7 separate regions of the Homo sapiens genome follow, and all the other regions are linked to region 6. The links are contacts of gene promoters, found by promoter capture Hi-C in blood cells and fetal thymus (Javierre and others, 2016). All regions are on one chromosome and are shown on one strand. The core of a region is centred on a gene start or on the middle of the fragment in contact, and the rest is flanking DNA. Distances in the headings are between cores, read along the strand shown. Region 1 overlaps GSKIP (GSK3B interacting protein). Region 2 overlaps ATG2B (autophagy related 2B). Region 3 overlaps RCOR1 (REST corepressor 1). Region 4 holds the start of DICER1 (dicer 1, ribonuclease III). Region 5 has its middle 7.7 kb from the start of SNHG10. Region 6 holds the start of SETD3 (SET domain containing 3, actin N3(tau)-histidine methyltransferase). Region 7 has its middle 11 kb from the start of GLRX5.

Region 1 (3,096 bases), core at 189-2,688, 3.1 Mb before region 6:
TTTATTTGTAACTGATGCTACCAGTTATTTTAAGTGTCTGAATAATAACCTGACTTCTCTAAGAAAAAGATTTCTGCTTCCTACACCCTATACTTTCCAAAAGACTGCAATTTTTAAATTGTTTTTTCTTATTGAAAACATAATCATTTTCTTTTCACCATAGGAAAATTAGAATATTAAAAAATTAAAGCTATCAACAATCTTTTTTTTTTTTTTTTTTTTGAGACAGAGTCTCACTCTGTCACCCAGGCTGGAGTACACTGGTGCAATCTCAGCTCACTGCAGCCTCTGCCTCTCGGGTTCAAGAGATTCTCCCGCCTCAGCCTCCCCAGTAGCTGGGATTATAGGCACGTGCCACCACACCTGGCTAATTTTTTTCTATTTTTAGTAGAGATGGGGTTTCGCCATGTTGGCCAGACTGGTCACAAACTCCTGACCTTGAGTGATCCACCTGCCTCAGCCTCCCAAAGTGTTGGGATTACAGGTGTGGGCCACCACACCCAGCCAAAACTATCAACAATTAATTTTTAACAAAGAGCAATAGCATAACTGAAGTGGAAAGAGTTGCAAAAACTTAGAGAAGGCCTAACTCAGCCCTAACCTTGTATCCTTTTACCAGCTCCTGCCTCTGCTTGTTAACTTTATACTGCCAGACACGGTGCCTGAAATTTTCATCTTGTTGAATTAAGTCCTTGGGTTAGGGCTATACTTCTAAAACGTATTTTTCATGCCAATATTCCTCACTCGAATGTACCTTTTAGAGGCAAAGGAAACCCTAGACGCGTAGGGGTATAATCTAAAGAGGATGTGGCTTGAGACATCCAAACATTTGTGTACTTTTTCATTAAAATTCTAGGCAGTTCTGTAATATTTCCTGATATTGATATAGTAACAGTGATATGTATTTTCCAAGAATATCTGCCATGTTTGTCCTGAGTCTTTGTATACTCCTTGTCACAGAGCCGAGTATCACACCTGAGAAGCAGAGAGTTAGAATTTTCTCTGTTTTATTCATTCAGGAAATATTCAATGAAGTCCTGCTTTATGCCAGACACTGTGCTGGTGATGTGTATATCACAGGCTCCCATCTTCATGGGTCTGTAGTAGTACAGACACAAAAATTATTTGCCATGAGGCTTAAGTACAGCAGTACCAAAGCAGAGATGCTGTTCAGGAAGATACAGTGATTGGCCATCTTGAGAGCAGATACACAATCCTGAAATAGGTTTGTCTGAGCTGAATTTTAGAGGACTAAAAGTCTTCAAAGTCGTGTTAAAATAAAATTTTTTAAGTTAAAAACATGGATCTCATAAAACATATGGTGAGCATGTGTCAAAATGCATTTAATTCATTAATGAAACAAACAACAAGATGGTAAAAGTTGGTTCAGAGTAGTATAGGTGATCCCTGAGAAGCATCATACAAATATGGTGAGCCTGTTGCCCTATTGTATTGCCTAGAGCCAGGCATGGCACTGGAAAGAAAAATCCAGGTAAAGCCTGATGGTCTCCCTGAATTGAGGACATAGAGCTGGAAACCCAAGAAGGCCAAGGCAGCTAGGACAGAGTACTAGAAAGTAAATAGCTTCACAGAAAGCAAGGACTGTGAGGATATAGGAAGGGTCTCCCTCCAGCCTGTAGCTGAATACTAATTCATGAGTTCACTGCCCTAGGCTGGGGAAAGAACTACCAAAAAGAATGAGAGGAGGGGCCAGGTGCTGTGGCTCACGCCTGTAATCCCAACACTTGGGAGGCTGAGGTGGGTGGATCACTTGAGGTCAAGAGTTTGAGACCAGCCTAACCAACATGATGAAACCCCGTCTATACTAAAAATACAAAGATTAGCCAGGCACGGTGGTGGCCACTTGTAATCCCAGCTACTCAGGAGGCTGAGGCAGGAGAATGGCATGAACCCAGAAGGCCCGGATTGCAGTGAACTGAGATAGCACCACTATACTCCAGCCTGGGTGACAGAGCGAGACTCTGTCTCAAAAAAAAAAAAAAAAAAAAAAAGAAAGGAGGATACTCAGTTTGGGACTTTCTGAAGCAGAGGTGATATGAAAATTATACATCTCCTCATTTCTTTGGAGACTAAGTTGCTGGATCTTCATCTTTATTGGATAATATCAAATCATTTTCCAAAGTGTTGTGCCAGTTTACACTCCCACTCAGTGTCTAAATGTTCTGTGTTCTGCATCCTCAATAATACTTGATTTAGAAAATTTTTTATGCATAGACTCAAAAAGGAAAATGTCTTACTGATCTGCAAGATGTTAAATGTTACCTCATTTTAATTATTTCTATAATTTCTAACTGTGAGTGTATTTTCATGTGTTTAATAATCATTTCTGTTCTTCCATTAAAAAAAAAAAAGAATTACAGGAAACAGTTTTCTGAGCTAAAGCAGGACTAGGGATAATTCCCATTCTTATCACACAGAATAGAAACCCTCGTAATTCATAGGGCATTGGGTAGAGTACTCAGAAAGGTTTTGCCTCTGTAATGGGACAGAATTAACTAGAGATTAAACGCAGATCTTGTCTAAAAGCAAGACCCAGAAAGATCAAGCTGTTTCCAGATAACTACCTCCCAGGACAATGCTCAACAATATTTATTACTTTTTAAATTTTTTCTCACCATGCGTCTAACCAAATGAATTCAATAATATTTAAAATAATATAAAAACATTCAGCACCACATTCACAATGTCTGGCATCCAGTCAGAAAAGACCAGGCATGCAGAGCAGCAGAATATAACCTACAATTGAGAAGAAAAATCTGTCCGTTGAGAGTAACCCAGAAATAATACTTGAAATTAGTAGGCAGGACATTATAACACTTATTATGGCTGTATTTTATATGTTCAAAAAGCTAGAAAAAAGATTGAGCAAATTAAGCAAAGACATGGAAAATATGTTTAAAAGATTAAAAGACACAAATAGAATAGATACTGAAGAAAAGACTAACAAACTTGAAGACATATCAATAAACAATTCAAAATGAAACAGTGAAAAAAATAAATACAGCAATGAGGAACAGGACACCTTCACTTGGACTAATATACATAAAATTAGAGTCCCCAAAGAGGATAGGGACA
Region 2 (3,090 bases), core at 466-2,965, 3.1 Mb before region 6:
CAGGGATGGTTAATGGGTACAAAAATATAGTTAAAATGAATAAGCCCAAGGGCCAGGCATGGTGGCTCACACCTATAATCCCGGCACTTTGGGAGGCTGAGACGGGCAGATCTCTCGAGGTCAGCAGTTCGAGACCAGCCTGGCCAACATGGTGAAATCCCGTCTCTACTAAAATTACAAAAATTAGCCAGGCGTGGTAGGACGTGCCTGTAATCCCAGCTGCTTGGGAGGCTGAAACAAAAGAATCACTTGGACCCAGGAGGCGGAGGCTGCAGTGAGCCACTGCACTCCAGCCTGGGCGACAGGGGACTCCATCTCAAAAAAAAAAAAAAATGAGTAAGATCTAGTAATTAATAGTACAACAAGGTGGCTACAGTCAATAATTTATTGTACATTTTTAAATATCTAAAAGAGCACAACTGAATTATATGTAACACAAAGGATAAATGCTTGAGGTGATGCATACCCCTTTTACCCTGATGTAATTATTAGGCATTGTATGCCTGTGTCAAATATCTCACGTACCCCATTAATATATATACCTACTATGTACCCACAAAAATTAAAAGTTAAAAATTAAAAAGAAAGCAGAGACCAAGATAAAGATGATCTCGGTCCTCACTAAGCTTACAAGATAGTATACCATGAAAGAGACAAGTAATTAAAGTGTGATGATTATATACAGAGGAAACACACTGTGCTATTTGAACACATAATAGAACCTAACCTGCAGATTCAAGGCAGCCCACTTGAAGGAGTGCTATTTTAAGCTGGGACCAGAAGACCAGAAGGAGTTAATCAGGCAAAATGGTCCAGGCAAAAACAAAGCATGTGGAAGGATTCAAAGAAAGCAGAAGTCAAAGAAATACATGCAGGCATATTTGATACATCGCAGTATTTGAAAAAGAAAAGTTGCTTTAGGCTTCAGTGTGCCAGGGCGAAGACCCAGAGACAAGGCTATGTAGATAAAGAGGAGTAGGATCCAAAGAGCCTTGTAATGCATGTTAAAGCGTCTGAAATTTATCTTAAGGGTGATGTGAAGCCACTGAAGGGCTTTAAGCAAGGACGCCATGATGAGATTCAAACTTTGAGTGGGCCCCTTCAGTTGCCATGTACAGCATGAAGGGAAGATGCCAGCAGGAAGGCTGTTATGAGTAATAGAAGCTAGAGAGGCTGGTTTGGCACAGATAGCAACACTGAGGACAGTCACAAGTGGATAAATTTTTGTAACATATTTAGGAAGTAGAATGATTAATTGGCATCATGAGGGGTAAAAGAAAGAAAGAATTATGAATGACACTTAGGAGGCTGGCTTGGGCAATTGCTTAGATAGAGGTGTCATTTACTGAGATACAGAAACACAGGGAAGCAGGTTAGAGGGAAGATGAGAAGTTCACTTCCAAAGTACACATTTAAGGAGACATCTAGGTAGAGGTGCTAAGGAGGAAGCTGGAGCTTCCTCCAGCTAGAGCTCAGGAGAGCCATCTGGGTGGGAGATACAGATTAACATTACAAACACAGAGGGTAGGTCAGGTATGGTGACTCACGCCTTTAACTCCAACACTGGGAAGCCAAGGCGGGAGGATCTTGAGCTGAGCAGTTTGAGACCAGCCTGGGCAACACATCAAAACCCTGACTCTACAAGAAATTCAAAAATTAACCAGGTGTAGTGGCACATACCCGTAATCCCAGCTACTTGAGAAGCCGAGGTGGGAGGAATGCTTAAGCCCGGGAGGCAGAGGTTATAGTGAGCCAAGACTGTGCCCCTATACTCCAGTCTGAGCAACTTAGTAAGACCCTGTCTCAAAAAAATAATAAAATAATAAACAAATGGGTAACTGAAGCCACAGCACGAGGAGAGAAATGTTTGGGAACTTATACAGTGTAAAATGAGAGGTGGCTTAAGACAGAACTCATAGACACCAATATTTAAGAAAAGGGTTATGAAAGAGGAGCCTGCAGAAGAAACTAGAAAAAAGCAAACAGAGACATAGAAGGAAAATTGAAAGAGGTTCATGTCCCAGAAAATCATGGAAGAACAACATGACAGAGAAGAGTGGTCAAGCTCAACAAAAGCTAACAAGAAGTCAAAGATTTTTAAATGTCTACTGAAATCAGTAATATTTAAAGTACTAGTGATCCCATTAACTGCAATTTCAGTGGCATGGTGGAGCAAACCAGACTACAACAGGAGACAGACAGAAAGAACGTAAATGCGATTTTTAAAAGACAATTTACTTTTCAAATTAAAATAACATATTTATTAAACGCCAGCTTATATGTAAAGTGCTTCCTGCATGCTATATTGCATAGGGTAGTATAATTCTTTGTCTGTACCCTAGTGTTGAATAGTGAGACTTGATCGGCTCGTTTTATTTTTGGAGATCACTACTTTAAAAGGCTTTCTTCATGCTGACATTTGCATAATCCTAAAGACTTTCCCAGTAGTACATGGGCATGGATGGTTTTAAGGTATAAGCATCCAAACATATTCTTTCCTAAAATGGACTGAGAAGACTACAGACAGTGGTGGCATCATGCTGGGTCTCCTGTCCCATAGTTCCTTGTACAATCTTCCTTCTCCCATTTAGCCAAAATAGCCATATTCTTCCTCTCTTCAGAAATTCTCCCTTATGTACTGTCTAAGGTATAAAAACCTCCAGACAGGGCCAGCAGTACATTTTCTATCTTTTCCCATCTTATACTTTTTTTGGCATGACACTCAGAAATTCAAAGAACTCAGTGATGTTGCTCCTGCAAAATCTCTCAATTCTCATCTACTGATTTATAACATCAGTATTTCTCAAGCTTGTATCTACATTTTAATTTAGAATAAAATGTGTGCCGAGCCCTGCTGAATTCCAGCTATAAGTATATTCACCTATGGATGCACTAACAAATTAGGGAGGAGGGGATCACAACCAACCTCTATCATTAAGAAATTTATTTCCAGTAAAAGTTTTTATGTTTGCTGGGTACAGTGGCTCATGCCAGTAGTCCCAGCAATTTTGGAGACTGAGGCAGAAGGATTGCTTGAGTCCAGGAATTTGAGACCATCCTGGGAGACATGGTGAAACTCGTCTCTACAAA
Region 3 (3,166 bases), core at 306-2,805, 3.1 Mb after region 6:
GCCCCCGCCGATGCCGGCCATGGTGGAGAAGGGCCCCGAGGTCTCAGGGAAGCGGAGAGGGAGGAACAACGCGGCCGCCTCCGCCTCCGCCGCCGCCGCCTCCGCCGCCGCCTCGGCCGCCTGCGCCTCGCCAGCCGCCACTGCCGCCTCGGGCGCCGCCGCCTCCTCAGCCTCGGCCGCCGCCGCCTCAGCCGCCGCCGCCCCCAATAATGGCCAGAATAAAAGTTTGGCGGCGGCGGCGCCCAATGGCAACAGCAGCAGCAACTCCTGGGAGGAAGGCAGCTCGGGCTCGTCCAGCGACGAGGAGCACGGTAGGTGGCAGCCGCCCCCGCGGCCCCGGGCCCCGCGCCCCGCGCCGCGCTGACCGCCGTATTCTGCTTCCCCCGCAGGTGGCGGTGGCATGAGGGTCGGACCCCAGTACCAGGCGGTGGTGCCCGACTTCGACCCCGGTGAGTAGCGGCCCCGGCCGGCCGGCGGCGGGGATGAGCGGGAGCCCCGGGTCCCCGGCGAGCCCGAGGGGGCGGGAGCCCGCCGACAACTTTCTTTTTGTGCGTTCGCCCTGCCGTCCGTGGGGAGAACAGCAGGGCGAGGACGAGGAGGCGCACACGCACACGAGTGTTCTGCAAACGTGCCTCTGCACCCGGGGGAGGCCAGGTCGCCCCCAGCAGGGCCGGCGCCGCTGCCCCCTTGCGCCTCCGAGGACTGCGGGTGGCGTCGGAGGTGGCCACACCTGGCCTGGGGGCGCTGGGGGTCCCTGCGTCCAGGTGAGCTGCGCCTCGGCCAGGGGTAAGGGTGGCAGTGCCGGAGAGTTAGTGTCCTGCGAGCGCCCCGGACTTAGGAGGTCCCCAGAGACCCCTTTCTCGGAACCCTTCCCAAAGGCTGCTCCCCACGCCTTTGCTCCTCCTCTCAGCCTCTGGGCTCTTGCTGGCTCCTGACTGCCCTCCCATCCAGAAGGCGAGTAGAAGAACGACCCCCCAAAACCAGTCAATAAAAGAAGTGTGTTTTCCAGAGGGCGCCTGCCTGGGGAAGAGAGTCTCGCGTGTGGCAGTTGGATTTTAGGACCTATTTGTAAATGTGTGTATTTCCTTTTTTTTGGAGGAAGAGATTGTGAAATTGAGAAGCATCAGAAGCTTTAGCCTAACAAATGCTTTTCACCTACAAGAAAGCCCTACACCCTAGAATGGAACACTTAGTTCCCTGGCTGCTATTCTGTGTAGAAGCAAATTTAAAGTGGTACAAGAAAAAAAATCCGATCAGACAAAGGAATTCGTCAGATTTTAATGCATGAGATTCTAGCCAGTGTCTGTATGAGACTGTCTTTAAAGGTTGTTGGTATGGAAAATGTTTGAAAGAACGTAGGATTTATTTCAGAAATAAAATTCAAAAGAGCATCTTGTAAAGCTGGAGTTAACAATCCTCCATGGTTGGAGGGCTTTAGAGCTGGGGTTCTGTATGTGGGTTATACCACTAGTTTATTTGAAAAGATAAACGCATACATGTTTTTTCCTTGGAAACAAGACTGCAGAAAATTGCAATGATCTAGTCCTTGAAAAAGGCGATTGCTCTCAAGCTGTTATTAAGGTACTAAACTGCACTTTGAAGTGAAAATACATAGAGGTCCTAGGTGAGCTCTTGGACACTCTGGAAATAAATGACTTCCTAAATTGGCCTTCTAAATTTTGATTTGTTGACGTAAATCTGTTAAATTTATTTGTCTAATACTCGCGTTTGTGTTTCTTTTAAGTCCATGTTAGTGTTTTTGATAGTTTCCTCTTCTCCCCAATTCTTTTTTTTTTTTTTGGTAGTCACTTCTCGTTTATGAGTGACAGGATAGAACTAGGTGGCCAGGCTATATCTCTTGTATGCTTGGCTCCTCCGTTCCTTGGTTGGCCACCAGGGGAAGCATACTGTTTTTTGGTTACAGTTGACCCTGTCTTCATTTTGTAGGTCAAGTCTATCTTTGCTTTAAAACACAGAACATAAAGCTTGTTACCAAATTTTCCTAATGTATTATTTTTAAAAATCGACTTCCACAAATCTTTGAGTAAGTTGGTAGGCTTTTTGATACATTTTTGTTAACATAAATTTTGAAAACTTTATGTAGATGTGTTGGATGTGACTAAGGAAAAGGGCATATTTGTCAACAACAGGAATTAGATTTCTGACATTCATCGAAATATTGACATCAGCTCTGCATTGTTAGTAATGAGTTTGACTTCTTTGGAGTTATACTTTTCTTTGAAACAGCAAATATAATATTTTGAACTGTCTTTGGGCTTTTTGTTGGAATAGATATGAGCATAAACTTGCTAGTGACCAGCTATTCTAAAATGGAAAACATTTATCAGATTGCAGTAGCTCACACCTGTAGTCCCAACACTTGGGGAGGCCAAGGCTGGAGGATCTCTGGAGCTCAGGAGTTGGAGACCAGCCTGGGCAATGTAGTCAGACTCTGTCTCAACAAAAAATAAAAAAATTAGCTGGGCATGGTGGCATGTGCCTGTAGTTTCAGCTACGGGGGGGTCTGAGGCTGGAGGATCTCTGGGAAGTCAAGGCTGCAGTGAGCAGTGATCTGGCCATTGCACTCCAGCCTGGGTGACAGAGTGAGACCCTGTCTCAGAAATAAAAAGGAAAACATCTAACTGTTTTGCTGCATAGTCTTGCTGCCAATTGGTTGAGTATTGATATTAAAATTTCCAAATTTCTTTTTTTTTTTTTTGAGACGGAGTCTTGCTCTGTCCCTCAGGCTGGAGTGCGCAGTGGTGTGATCTCAGCTCACTGCAAGCTCCGCCTCCCAGGTTCACGCCATTCTCCTGCCTCAGCCTCCAGAGTAGCAGGGACTACAGGCGCCCACCAACACTCCTGGCTAATTTTTTGTATTTTTAGTGGAGACGGGGTTTCACCGTGTCAGCCAGGATGGTCTTGATCTCCTGACCTCGTGATCCGCCCGTCTCGGCCTCTCATAGTGCTGGGATTACAGGCATGTGCCACCGCGCCCGGCCCCAAATTTCTTTATTTTGTGTTTGTTTTAATCTGGAAAGGAATCTAACTGGTGTAAAGTAATTTCAAACCTTGTTTTGCCAACCTAAGCAGGGGGACACAGTTTTCTAGATATGGCAGAAAATTGAGACTTTACTATTTCCTAGTGGTTTTTTATGTGTCTTTT
Region 4 (3,170 bases), core at 205-2,704, 4.3 Mb before region 6:
TGTATATTTTTATTTAGAAAACTTAACGTTTACACCAATACATATTCAATATAGCTAACCTGTTTTAACAGCACATTTTTAACAATATTTTCCGAGTTGCTTAAATCCTAACCTGAGTCCTTTTCCACTGTTTGAAAACAAGCACCACGAAGACACCTGACAATCAGGATTGTAAAGATTCAGAATATTCGAAGACAGAAGCATAGGCGTCCAAGTGATCCTCTTTCATCAGATGAATGTTTTTAAAACCTGAAAGTCCTAAGAACACTTACTTATCGTGTAGACCAGTAACGTGTCCCTTTAACCACAACTCTCTCCACAAAAGCACGGAGTTAACACTACACAAATAGGACCCTCCAACTCATCTCCACGTTTCCGCGGATCTTCAGGTTCCTAAGGACACACTCAGTGGTTTGCTGGCTCTGACCTCCAGGCAGAGCCATCAGGGCAACTCAGCTTTTCTGGACAATCTACAGAAATCTGATGTGCTAACTTAAAACATACACTGATTTCCCCAAAATCAAAAACCCTGAAGAAAGGGTCCTCCGCAGGGTCTAGGCATTTTGGCACAAAAACATCTGAGGGGAGAGGCAAAAGAATGGCCTCGGCCCCTGCCCGCCCCCCAGGGCCCCAATCTGGTCCCCTGACAGTAATCACACAGGACCCTCCCGGGAGGGACCGAGAGCCCAGCTTCGTCCCCTCCGGGCGCGGCACAGCGGCCCCATCAGAGGAGGGCCCCAGGGTGCTCCGGCAGGTCAGGCGCGCGTCTCCACCTCCGCTGCTCCCGCGCCACCTTAGCGCGCGTGACGGGACCTGTCAAGAGCCCCAGGCCTCGCCAGGCCGGGGAGTGGACAGGCGCCGGCATCCCCCACCACGCCACGGCGGCCCGGAAAGTCTCCCAGGGCTGCCTCGCGGGGAGGCGCCGGGGTCCGGGCCCAGGAGCAGAGCCGAGGCGGGCAGACGCCGGGTCCACAGGCCGCGCTGTGCGGGACGACGAGGCAGGCGAGGCCGCGCCCTTCGTCAGCGCCCGCCAGGCCCGGACGCGCGGCTCGGGGCCATGGCCGGCACGCGGGCCTCCGCGCGGAGGCGGGAGCGCGGCCAGGCGACCCGCTCCCCGCCCCGGACACAAAGCTGCTCCGCGGGAGCCCGCCTCACCTGCAGCACGGGGCGCCGCGGGCCTTCGAGAACCATCGGACCCCGCTCCGGCGCGCGCGTCACAGCCCAGGCCTCCCGGAGCCGCCCGGCGCCGCCGCCCCCGCCGCCATTTCCTCGCGCTCGCCGTCGCCTCGTCCCCGCTGTCAGGTTACTCCATTCACCTGGGCCTGCAGCAGCCTGCGCCGCGCCTCCGCCTCGACCCCTCCCGCCGGCGCCTGCGGAGACTGCGCAGCGCCCGGCTGGCCGGCAGCCAGCGCACGGCCCGCGGCAACGGCGCACAGCCGCTTGGAGAATCCCACTGGCTCCCGCACCGCCCCTCCGCGCCCCCACGCTCCGCTCGCCCCGTGGCGGCATGAGAGCGAGCCTGTGATTGGACAGGGCCTGGCGGTGAAAGGTTAATCCCGGCCCCCCAGCCACTCAGGAGCAGGGAGACAGCGGGCGCGCGCGCGGAGGCCGGAGAGGCGTTTGCGGCCCAGCGCCTGGACTGGACCTTGGCGTTGGGCCGCAGTTGCCCGGAGTTTTTGGGGCCCCCGGGAACCCGCGCGCCGAGGCCGGCTAAGTTTGGCAGACTCTCTGAGCTCTCGGAATTCGACTGCCTCCATTGTTGCTCCTTCTGGCACCCACAGACCGTAACGTGGCCGTAATTGTTTCCCGGAGAGCTTAGCTTCCCTCTGAGCACCTCCCTCCCCTTTTTAAAGTACCTTCCCACTCGCCTGCGTTTCCTCGCGTTAGTGGTGCAGGGGCCTCCGCATTTGGGGAAATAACAAACACCCACTTCCGCCCCCCACCCCAACCGGGATCCCCAGATAATGAGAAATAGATGGTGGCCCTCTGTTTGTAAGCTGTTCATTTGCATAGGTCGGAACCGCGCACCACAGCTTGAAGCTAGGAATTAAAATATCGGTGGGAATTAAATAAGTGGCTGGCTTAAAGAACATCTTCTTAATTTATCCCCAAATGTAGACATCTCTTCAGTGGACCCCCTGATAGGCCGGTTTGCTCCAGGTGAGGTGTGCTCACAGCAACTGCAACCGTGTTTCTTTCAGACCATGGGCGTGAGCAGAACCTACTATGCGCCCCTGCTGCCTGGGCTGTGCTGTTCAGTTTGGGGCCACCAGCCCCACATGGCTCCTGAGCACTTAAAGTATGGCTAGTCGGAATCGAGATATATGCATTCTTTACCAAATAATGTTCAAAAAATTGTTACATGTTGAAGTGATAAACTTTTTCCATATATTGGGATAAAAGTTTTATTTGTTTATTTTTTAGTGTGGGTTCTACAGAATTTTAAATGTCACCTGTGGCCTGCATTATATTGCCATTGGGCAGGCTGATCTAGGGCTTGCATGCCTGTGATCCTTAGGTGCACCCTGTGAGGTAGGTGCTTTAACTGTGTGCACCCTGTGAGGTAGGTGCTTTAACTGTGTGCACATTGTGAGGTAGGTGCTGAAACTGCTTCCTGTTTTTTTTTTTTTTTTCTTTTGAGACGGAGTCTCACTCTGTCTCCAGGCTGGAGTGCAGTGGTGCGACCTGGGCTTACTGCAATCTCCGCCTCCCAGGTTCAAGTGATTCTCCTGCCTCAGCCTCCCGAGTAGCTGGGATTACAGGGGCACGCCACCACACCCAGCTAATTTTTGTATTTTTAGAAGAGACGGGGTTTCACCATGTTGGCCATGATGGTCTCGATTTCTGACCTTGTCATCCGTCCGCCTTGGCCTCCCAAAGTGCTGGGATTACGGGCGTGAGCCACCGTACCCAGCCTGCTTCCTGTTTTAACAGACGAAGAAATGGAATAACTTCCAACAAGTAAGTAGCCAGTAAGTGAACAACTGAGATTTGAACCCACGTAGTCTGGCTTTGAGGCTGGTGTGCTCAGTCATTACTGTGCTAAAATTTTGATAATATATTTACTATGAATTGGCTTAAGGTTTCACTTGAAAGTAGCATATTTATGGGCAAAATTAGGAAGTAGGATGCTCCTGGCAGACCCATGTATTTAAAAAAGTAGTTTCTTA
Region 5 (2,961 bases), core at 216-2,715, 4.0 Mb before region 6:
TGATTTAGATGTTCCTCAGGCACCTGGAAACAGAAATGTCCAAAAGTAATTCCTGAACTTACCTTTCCAATCCTCCTTCCCCCTCCCGCTGTATTCCCTGCATCATCAAGTGCAGTCAGTGGCTAAGCAAAACCCTAGGAATAAGCCTGAATCTTCCCCTCTTCCTCCCAGCCCCCTCCCCACAGTCAGCCAGTCACCAAATGCTGTCATCCCTACCTTCAAAGAACTCAGCTTGCAGCAGTGCCCTTCCCCCATGCCCCCACCCCAATACCTGCAAAGGTTAAATCTGATGACCCTCTCCTAAGTGGCCCCGTTAGCTCGGCCACCTCCAATCCATCAACACTCCCGCAAGGGTGATCTCTCAAGCACTCTGCAGCTTACACTCCTCCTGGGACTCTCCCTCATCCAGAGGAGGAGAGCCCAGTCCCTTACCATCTGTCCTCCCCTCAGCTATGTCCAGTCCTGCATTTCTCAAGAAACGGCCTGGCATTCTCCCAGTGGACCCAGGGGCCTCTGTGCCTTTGCCCTGGTTGCTCCCTCTTCCTGGAATGTCCCTCCTTTTTATATAGAAGCACTTTACCCTTCTCTCAAAACTCAGTTCAAGTGTCACCCCCTACTAAGCTTTTCCTATCCCTTAGGCGCTGACTGAGCTTTTTCCGAGAGCTCCATTCCCTTCTCCAGTTCTCGGGGGCATTCTTGCATCTGTCCCCATCACAGGACTGCGAGGTCCTTGGGATTTGGCAGCCTCTTACTCCACTCTGTATCCTGCTTAGCGCAGAGCCTGTGGGTGCCTCACTGAATGTTTCTCCACCTCCTATGGCACCTGTGCTCGATATTATGAGTTTCACACAATTTGGGATTTGCTGAGATCCTGCTCTGTATTGTTCACCAGGTTATGTATTCTTTATTCAAGAATTATCTATTGAACATATAGTAAGTGCCAGGGATGGCACTAGGGCACCAGGTTACAAAAATGAATCCTACCCAACTAGAAGTTGATGGCCTAGTGTGTGCGTGGTGGGGGTGGGGGGAGGAATAAACAGATACAATTACAATGCATACACTCCCTGAAGAGGTTCTGATCCCCAACCACTGTGAAACAGGGCTGGGTAGTAGCACAAGTGAGGTGGTTATATTCTTTGAGGCCTCTAATTGTGTGTCCTGGGTTGACATCAGCATTTGCAGAACCACTTTATGGACGGCCCTTTCTGACGTAACGTCGGCTGAGCTCTCTTATCAAGCCCACTGGTTTACACAGTTAGAAAAATTCAACTTTACACCAGTATTATTCAGTCCCTCAACACCTGATGAAATGTACTAGGTATTTCCAAGGTGTCTTCCAAGTACTAACATGAAGTATGTAACAGAGTTAGAATAACTTTATCTGGCACAATGGAGTAAAGTATTCCTTTTTTTAACATAACCTTAAGCTGTGTGTGTGTGTGTGTGTGTGTAGTTTTTGTTGGCAAGCTAAAATAAACTGCATGTTTCCTTGACTTCCTATTCAGAGCATGGGGAAAAGAATTTCTTTTTCTTGCTCGGAAGCATAATACAAGGCACTAGTGCACAAGGAACAGTCACGGGTGAAGACTGTTCGCCCCTCCTTACATCGAATGCCCCAGAATGCTGCTTTTTAAGAAGAATCCCAGAATGTCTGCCTCTTAGTGCTTCACCTTTCACTTACTGTTCAGTCATTGTTTCTTTCTGCTTTTAGTGTTAGCCTTTTAAAATTTACTGCTTCTGATCTGTTGTGGTTATATTAGAAAACTAAGTAAGTTAGCTATTCCCTAAAATAAGAATAGCACTTGGGTAAGAACTGAGAGACTTTTCCTAGAATTGAGCAAAATGATTAATTCCCAGAGAATGTATAATTACAGGGGCAGCCCTTATTGGCTCTTGCCCCAGCTTCCTCAGTAAAATAGACTAGTGCCCCCTACCTGCCTTGCCAGGAAAGACAGAGACTCATTCTATTATAAAATGTATTTCTCAAAACCAGAATGACTTTGAAAGATGTGTTATTTTTCTGAACACAAGTAAAAATTCCTTCAAGTAAGAGGATATTATTTGCTCTGTAATTAGACAGCCAATAGTATGTGTGGATTATCACGGATCTGTGGCTGCATGGTATGAAGAGATGAACCAACGGGAATATCCCATTGATTTCACATCGACTAGACTGGCATGTCCCCTCAAGGCTGCACTCATACAGCTATGATATGAAAATGCCAGATCACCGTCTATCTGGAGAGGGAAGAAGGTTTGCCAATATAACAGCTTCTCCTCAAGTCACCCAATTTTGCCTATGTAATAAAGCTTATGCAAAAAAAACTCCTTTTTTTTTAAACAAAATGTAATTGTTTTATGATAGTCTTTTTTTTTTTTTTTAAGATGAACTTTTGCTCTTGTTGCCCAGGCTGGAGTGCAATGGCGTGATCTTGGCTCACTGCAACCTCTGCCTCCTGGGTTCAAGTGATTCTCCGGCCTCAGCCTCCTCAGTAGCTTGGATTACAGGCACCCGCCACCACGCCCGGCTAATTTTTTGTATTTTTAGTAGAGATGGGGTTTCACCATGTTGGCCAGGCTGGTCTCAAATTCCTGACCTCAGGTGATCCATCTGCCTCGGCCTCCCAAAGTGCTGGGATTACAGGCATGAGCCACCACACCCAGTCTTTTGATAGTCTTTTATTAAAACTCTTTGAAACTGTGGCTCACTAAAATTTGATATCAATGAACAATATCTCACTAGGATACCCTTTCAAAAAATATTAAGTTTAGAATTAGCAAATAGGATTTTTCTGGCTGTAAAAGGAGAACAAAAAAATTTAAAATCCTCCATTTTTTTTTGCCAGCAAAGGAAAATGAATAATTAATGCCTCATCCCATTTCTAACTTGAATCATCCCTCCCCTCCCTGCAATTAAACTGGGGTGAATTTCTTTTTTGCTAGATGAACTGTTTTCTA
Region 6 (2,884 bases), core at 94-2,593:
AAAATAATAAACACTTCTCCGAGATTATTACTGGTTAGTTCAGTTTTGAAATACTGGCAAGGTCATTTCAAGAAGAAAAACGGGAGAGGGAGAGGTATATTTTACATAAGATAAAATTCACACTTTTCAGTGTCCGGTTCTGAGTTCTGACAAACGCATTTATAGTGGCCTCATCAGCACCACAATCAGGCTACGAAGATGGGGTAACTCTTCGAGGATTCTTAAAAGCAAAATTGATTTGTCAGCATACTTTAAAAGTATTTTTGCTTTTGAAACATCACCTTATTTATTTAGAAAAGCAAAATAACACGGTCCGAGTGGTCCTAACCCGCGAATGCCTTTGCAACACTGAAATGCCCTCCTCCCAACACCGGCCGGGCAGGGGTGAGCCCCGCAGCCAGGGGCGCGCGTCACTGTCAGCTCCTTTTCCCAAGTGGAGACCGGGAAAAGACAAGAGTTGCATCGCCGGGCTGGAGCCACGAGGAGGAAGAGTTAACGCCGGAATGACAAACTCTAAAGCACCGAATTGCCTCTCCCTAGTAGGGCACTGCGCGTGTGGAGCACGGCCAGGGGCGCGTGGGAAGAAAGACGACCTATTTCCTACGTCCGTCTTCCTAACTGGACGGCGCGGGAGGAGGCGGGGGCTGGTCCCCGGGCACCCTGGTGGGCACCGAGAACTCGCAGAGAGGAACATAAAACCGCACAGCCTTCCCCGAGCAGCGGGGTGACGGGAGGAAGGAAGGAAATGGGAGCGCGACCCGGCCGCGCGCAGAGCCGAGCCGACTAGCGCGAGGGGCCCGGGCCCCACCCGAGAGCAGGCGCGAGGGCCGGGGACAGCGGGGCAAGCTCGGGGAGAGCGCTGCCTGCACCTGGCACCACCTCGAGACCGGGTGGCGCGGGGCCCGGGAGCGTGGGCGCCAGAGGGGACAGGGCAGCGGCGAGCGCGCGCCTCTCGCCCCGCAGGGCGCCCGGGCAGAGGCCGACCGGCGCCCTCCGACCCCGCCGGGCCCTCCTCGCCCTGGCCCCCGAGCGCACACCTGCCCCTTCAAGCCCCGGGGCCACAGCGGCCGGCGGGGACCCTGGCGGGGGCGCGGGCCGGACTTCGGCCGAGGGGCGCTGGCCAGGGCGAGGGACGGCCTCGCAGAGCTCGGAGACGCGGCGCGAGTTTCCCCCGCGGGCCGCGCGGGCGCAGAGACCGCCGCCAGCACTCACCTGCCCGCTTCCCCTAGCGCAGCGGGAACGACGTACTCCGGCCCGGACCCCGCCGTCCGCCTCAACCAACCCCCAGGCGGTGGCGGCGGTGGCGGCGGCGGCGGCCGGACGGGAGGGGCGGGACGGCAGCCTGAGACGGCCCCGCGACCGCGGCCCAACGCTTCTCCTCCCGCCCCGGACCCCGCCCCCGGGCCGCAGCCGCCGCCGTTCATTGGCCCACGCTTCGGACGCATGGGCGCGGCCCCGCCCCGCCACCCAGCCGGCGTTCCGTTCGGGGTCCTCCCCAGCCAGTGGGCTGGCAGCTCCCGGGGGCAAGAGCGGCCGGCTCAGCCGCCGCCAACCACGATGTCGCAACTGGCTGCGTTCGCCCCCGCCAGAGCTTTGATTGGACGAATCTCGACCCGGGCCCCGCCTACGCGCCCAAGTTCCGTTAGCAGGTTCGGTTGCTCCAGAATGCCTTTTCGCCCCGAGGGGCGGGACCGACGGGATGGGCCCTGTGGCTGGCTCCTCCCTCTGTAAGCAGCAGCCACTGACCCGCGGGGCGGGCGGGGAGGAGAGCGGCGGCTCGTTCCTCTTTTGAGAGCTCTGCTTTCTTCCCATTGGTTGACAGGCATCCTACTCTCTCCGCCCCTCCGGTCGCTTGGTGGCGTCTCAGGACGCAGCGTGATGACGTAGGTCCCCGACATTCCATATACAAGATGGCCGCAGTCGGCAAGGAGAGACGTCGCTGAGGGGCTTGCCTGAAGCGAGGGGTGAGTGACCCACCGACTGAGGGCAGCGCCGCCCACCTCCCGCGTATCTGGAGGTCGGAGTAGGTTATGGCCAACCGCCGCTATCCACTGGCGGAGTCTCTCTTTCCGGATTCTGCCTCCCTCCGCTAACCTCCGGTACACATTGAACTTTGCGGGCGACGCGGGGTTGTGGGGCGGGCGTGTAGAGAGGGTCTGAGGCGCCGGGGCGGGGCAGGGAGGCCGGACTCACCCTAGAACTGGTAGCGGCCCTCGCACTGGGGGGCAGTCAGAGTTGGGGAACTTTCTAGGGGTTGGGCAAAAGGGGCAGCGGTGTTAACCGCGCACAGTCTCACAGCCACAGACTTCTCATATCTCCCCGATTATTTCGCGGCGTATTAGTCCCAACCTTGGCTAGGCCTGAAACTTTTTGGAGGTTGTTCCATGTCTAGGGTACTCCGACTTTGGAGTTTTGGAGAGCCACGTAACGAGGGTGCGGCTAAGATGAGGAAAAGGCACTTCCGGGATTAGATTTCGTTCTTGCCCAGACATCGTCTTTACGGACCCGCTCCTGGTGGTTGATTTGGTTTGTTATGAGAGAAATTGTTCTTTAGAAAATTGGAGCGTAAGTCTAGAGGTTATGTGACAGCTCCTAAACGATTGTCTGCCCAAGATAGGCTCGGTAATGCTCCCTAAATTTAGACTGCCAGTTAAACGGAGCTTTCGCTAAGTCATCTGAGGTTAGGAACTATTTCTAAGAGCATTTCTTAAGGGTGGTCTTCTGTGTTTTTAAGAGAAACTTGGTGATGTTTGTGTATCTCGATCTAAATCGCTGTTTACAGATACCTAGCACAATGCCTTGCAGTTGTAGGTGCCCGCTAAAGGTTTGTATGAATGATGTTGCTAGAATGAAAGCGAGGAGCTTTCAGCGCCTAGAACACTGC
Region 7 (3,198 bases), core at 682-3,181, 3.9 Mb before region 6:
AACAGTCCACCGAGCTAGGGGATTTAATGAGTATTTTACTTCTTAAAAAGTGGGGACTTTCTAAAAGAGGACATAATTTGGAATTGTGGCAGAGATTCTCCCAGTGTCTGGTGTCTTTATAAGACCTTTCCATGAGTTCTGCATCCCGAGACTGGGGCCTGGTAGAGCCTGGGGCTGTGCAGAGGCCCATGGGAAGGAAGCCCGCCTGGTGTGGCATGGAGGCTTTGTTCATCTCCAGGGACTTAAAGAGAGCGCTTGTCTAGAAACATATCTTTACGGTGGCAGAGGTGGGAAGAAGGATGCATTTTCTCATAATAAGGGCAAAAAGGACAGAACGGCTCTTTTCCCCAGAGCTATTCTAGAGGCTTGTTCTTCGTTGCTTATTTAATCTCCTTGAGTTCCTCTCGAGAATACTCTAAAAACAGACTTCCTCCATGAGGTCAGGCTAGAACTGATGGAGTTGCCCCTGCTCCCCTTCCCCAGAGGTTTTGGAAGGGGAAGGAAAGCTGTAGCCCCACGCCCCCACCCTGGGGACTGCCCCATCAGATTAGAGCACTGCTCCTCAGCAGTCACCCACCTCACCGTGTTAGAGAAAAGAAAAATAGATTATTCTCAGAAAAAGGTTATTACATTAATTGTCTGCTACATCCCATGATACCTTTATGTCTTCTGTAAGCTAAGGGACCTTAGGATCTAAGAGGAGGTTAAAACACATCCATTTGAGCCATTTGGTTTAGAAATGAGGGAAGCAGGAGCACTAGAAGGATCTACCTTGCCCTGTAGACAGAGTCACCATGAATAAGTCACTTCATACTGCCTCTGGATGGATACAGGCCGTGGACCAGAGGCCGGGTCTGCAAAATTGTCCCTTGCCATCACATCTAGTGAGGAGTGTGATACGTTTTCACAATTTTGCTTCTTTTGGCTTTTCCTTGAATCTGCCTGTGTGCCCTTAGGTTTCATCTGAAAAGCGAAATGATGAGAAACTTATTGATGGGAAGCATCAATGTAAGAAACCTCTCTAGAATATGATTGGAGCTAGGAAAAGGCTGCCAAGTGAATAATTTGACTCATGCTTATGAGTCATAGTGAGATCATATCAAAGTCACTAGGGAACTTATAAGTTGAAGGAATCACTGGGCTCTACGAGGAATGTAAGTCTTCTTTCTCAGAGTTAATTAATAATTTTTTTCTATATGCCTAACAAATCTCTACCAAGTAGAAAATTGAAGATGCTATCTAGTGTAAGTCTGAATAATTTTGATGGTCTGCATAATTAGAATTCACTGTGAGAATTAGAGCAGAGACACAGAGGTTCCTTGTGCAAACAGCAGTATCACGCACCTATTTAAAATGCAAGGACTGCTTCTCGGGTTTAAATGCACCTATTTAAAATACATTAGGCCTGTATTAGTGTGATTATATTGGATATTTGTCATAGCTTCAGGGTCTGTGTGATTAGACCCTTAGAAATCAAGTTATTTTAGAAGATTAAACATTTTATGATTTCAGGTAGTTTTTATTTTTTTCATGGATTGGTAGTTACATAAATGGCATTCTGCTTCATTAAGCTATGAGTTTTAGAGATATCTTAGGACAGAAGATAACTTTTAAGTTGGGTTTCGTTTTGTTGGCAGTGTTTAATTCACTTGTGTAGAATCTGGGAACCGAAGCTTTCCTTTAACTTTTCAAGCCATAGCAGCCAGCTTAAGAGAGAATTCTTGTTACATTTGTTAGGTTTACTTAGATATTTTGACATAAATTATATTTTGAGAAATCAGGTCCCTTGTTTGTGACAGGAGGGACTGTGCTAAGGGTAGAGGAATGACTTGTGTCGGCAAGGTTTCATTGGTGCAGATTGATTGATTGATTGATTGATTGATTGATTGAAAAAGGGTCTTGCTCTGTTGCCCATGCTGGCGTGCAGTGGCCTGATTATGGCTCACTGCAGCCTTGACCTCCTGGGCTTAAGCAATCCTTCCCACTCAGCCTCCTGAATAGCTGAGACTTCAGATGTGCACCACAACACCTGGCTAATTTTTTTATTTTTTAGAGACAGGGTCTCTGTGTTGCCCAAGCTGGTCTTGAACTCCTGGCTCAAGCGATCCTCCCACTCTGGCCTCCCAAAGTGTTAAGATTACAGGCATGAGCCACTGCGCCCAGCAGAAACAAATTTAAATGTGAGGTGAGAAAGCTTTCATGTGGGTTCCTGAGAGCCACCGACAGGAAAAGATATATATTAGGGGATGGCCACACAAAACACTGATTGTTTTAAAAATTTAACATTCCACTTAAGAATTGTTTAGTAAATCTAAAAAGCAGCTTTAAATTGTGCCTAAGAACCATATAATAGCTACTATGAAGCAGAGCAGAGGAATGGTGAAGAGAAAAGCCATTTTAAGGTCCAGGGGCTTACAGAGACGCATGGGGTGACCAGGTGGACTCTTGTAAAGCCACATTCCTGTCTTATTTCCTGAGAGTAGCATCACTTTAGGTCTGAAAGCTATGTGGGCATTTTGCGTGAGGGGAGCATTGTTTTCTTGGCGGTTGCCCTGGGAGCCCAGTGCAGGTGAGCTGAGGGCAGAGTCTCCCTTAGGGCAGAGATGCCACTGAAGGTGCACCTCACCTCAAAGATCCCTATCCTGGATTCAGTCAGAATAGCCATGTTATTCTCCTCCTTGTGAACCTCCCGGGGCACCCGGTTGTGTCACAGTGAAGTCTCTCCTATCCCAGAAAGCCTTCCCTGACCCCAGACGGAACAGACCCTTTAATCCACTCTACAGCCCTGTTCTTTGTTCATCACTCCAGGACCTAACTGCCTGTTACTTGGCTTTATTCAGATCCCCTCTGGCCAGCATACAGAGTGCCCCAAAAAATACATTTAGAAAAGAGTGAAGAATTTCCTTTCTTCATTCCTTTTGGATTAGTCACAAGAAATGTTAGGCTATTACAGGTTACAGCCTCGCAACACCGCAGTAGCTAAGAGCCGGGACTCAAGTCACCCTCCCTGGGTTTGCATCCCAGCACTTGCTGGGTGTGCTACTGACCTCAGACGACTTAGTAACCTCCCTTCCTGCTTAAGTGGGCAAATAGCAGATGCCACCGACCTCAGGCGTGTTACAAGCTTAGATGACAGCACCCTGTCGAGACCATGGCTCATAATGAGCTCTCACTGTAAGTTGACCTTGACAGTTAATG

What was found. The method cuts DNA at HindIII sites, captures the fragments that hold promoters and counts their contacts. A CHiCAGO score of 5 or more calls a contact.
Region 1: a fragment that was not itself captured here is called in contact with the fragment with the promoter of SETD3 in region 6 in 3 of 17 cell types (neutrophils, monocytes and non-activated CD4 T cells); the score reaches 14.5 in neutrophils.
Region 2: a fragment that was not itself captured here is called in contact with the fragment with the promoter of SETD3 in region 6 in 4 of 17 cell types (activated CD4 T cells, neutrophils, total CD4 T cells and 1 more); the score reaches 5.9 in activated CD4 T cells.
Region 3: a contact is called between a fragment that was not itself captured here and the fragment with the promoter of SETD3 in region 6, in 1 of 17 cell types (non-activated CD4 T cells). The highest score is 5.4, in non-activated CD4 T cells.
Region 4: a contact is called between the fragment with the promoter of DICER1 here and the fragment with the promoter of SETD3 in region 6, in 1 of 17 cell types (erythroblasts). The highest score is 5.1, in erythroblasts.
Region 5: a fragment that was not itself captured here is called in contact with the fragment with the promoter of SETD3 in region 6 in 2 of 17 cell types (neutrophils and monocytes); the score reaches 7.7 in neutrophils.
Region 7: a fragment that was not itself captured here is called in contact with the fragment with the promoter of SETD3 in region 6 in 1 of 17 cell types (erythroblasts); the score reaches 6.2 in erythroblasts.

What each region holds. Positions count from the first base shown.
Region 1 is chr14:96,371,241-96,374,336 of GRCh38, forward strand. All of the region lies in intron 1 of GSKIP (GSK3B interacting protein), which reads left to right. Among named protein-coding and RNA genes, the nearest start is that of GSKIP, 9.3 kb to the left of the region's middle. The HindIII fragment of the contact is 4,904 bases long and covers 1-3,096 here.
Region 2 is chr14:96,348,351-96,351,440 of GRCh38, forward strand. All of the region lies in intron 1 of ATG2B (autophagy related 2B), which reads right to left. Among named protein-coding and RNA genes, the nearest start is that of ATG2B, 13 kb to the right of the region's middle. The HindIII fragment of the contact is 2,182 bases long and covers 625-2,806 here.
Region 3 is chr14:102,592,877-102,596,042 of GRCh38, forward strand. RCOR1 (REST corepressor 1) reads left to right here. Exons shown (of 12, transcript NM_015156.4): 1 at 1-311; 2 at 390-449. The coding sequence starts at 11. Among named protein-coding and RNA genes, the nearest start is that of RCOR1, 1.8 kb to the left of the region's middle. RefSeq lists silencers at 1-79, 140-749. The HindIII fragment of the contact is 855 bases long and covers 1,129-1,983 here.
Region 4 is chr14:95,156,075-95,159,244 of GRCh38, forward strand. It overlaps DICER1 (dicer 1, ribonuclease III), which reads right to left and starts at 1,455. Exons shown (of 27, transcript NM_177438.3): 1 at 1,156-1,455. It overlaps DICER1-AS1 (DICER1 antisense RNA 1), which reads left to right and starts at 1,614. Exons shown (of 4, transcript NR_015415.1): 1 at 1,614-1,784; 2 at 2,119-2,160; 3 at 2,802-2,961. RefSeq lists silencers at 746-1,105, 1,166-1,625 and enhancers at 1,716-1,815, 1,856-1,925. The HindIII fragment of the contact is 7,422 bases long and covers 1-3,170 here.
Region 5 is chr14:95,525,650-95,528,610 of GRCh38, forward strand. No RefSeq gene overlaps it. Among named protein-coding and RNA genes, the nearest start is that of SNHG10, 7.7 kb to the right of the region's middle. The HindIII fragment of the contact is 1,692 bases long and covers 620-2,311 here.
Region 6 is chr14:99,479,516-99,482,399 of GRCh38, forward strand. It overlaps SETD3 (SET domain containing 3, actin N3(tau)-histidine methyltransferase), which reads right to left and starts at 1,344. Exons shown (of 13, transcript NM_032233.3): 1 at 1,213-1,344. It overlaps CCNK (cyclin K), which reads left to right and starts at 1,894. Exons shown (of 11, transcript NM_001099402.2): 1 at 1,894-1,964. RefSeq lists enhancers at 475-976, 1,785-2,154 and silencers at 825-1,024, 1,135-1,594. The HindIII fragment of the contact is 7,554 bases long and covers 1-2,884 here.
Region 7 is chr14:95,544,903-95,548,100 of GRCh38, forward strand. No RefSeq gene overlaps it. Among named protein-coding and RNA genes, the nearest start is that of GLRX5, 11 kb to the left of the region's middle. RefSeq lists a cis regulatory region at 917-1,207 and an enhancer at 2,881-3,198. The HindIII fragment of the contact is 521 bases long and covers 1,672-2,192 here.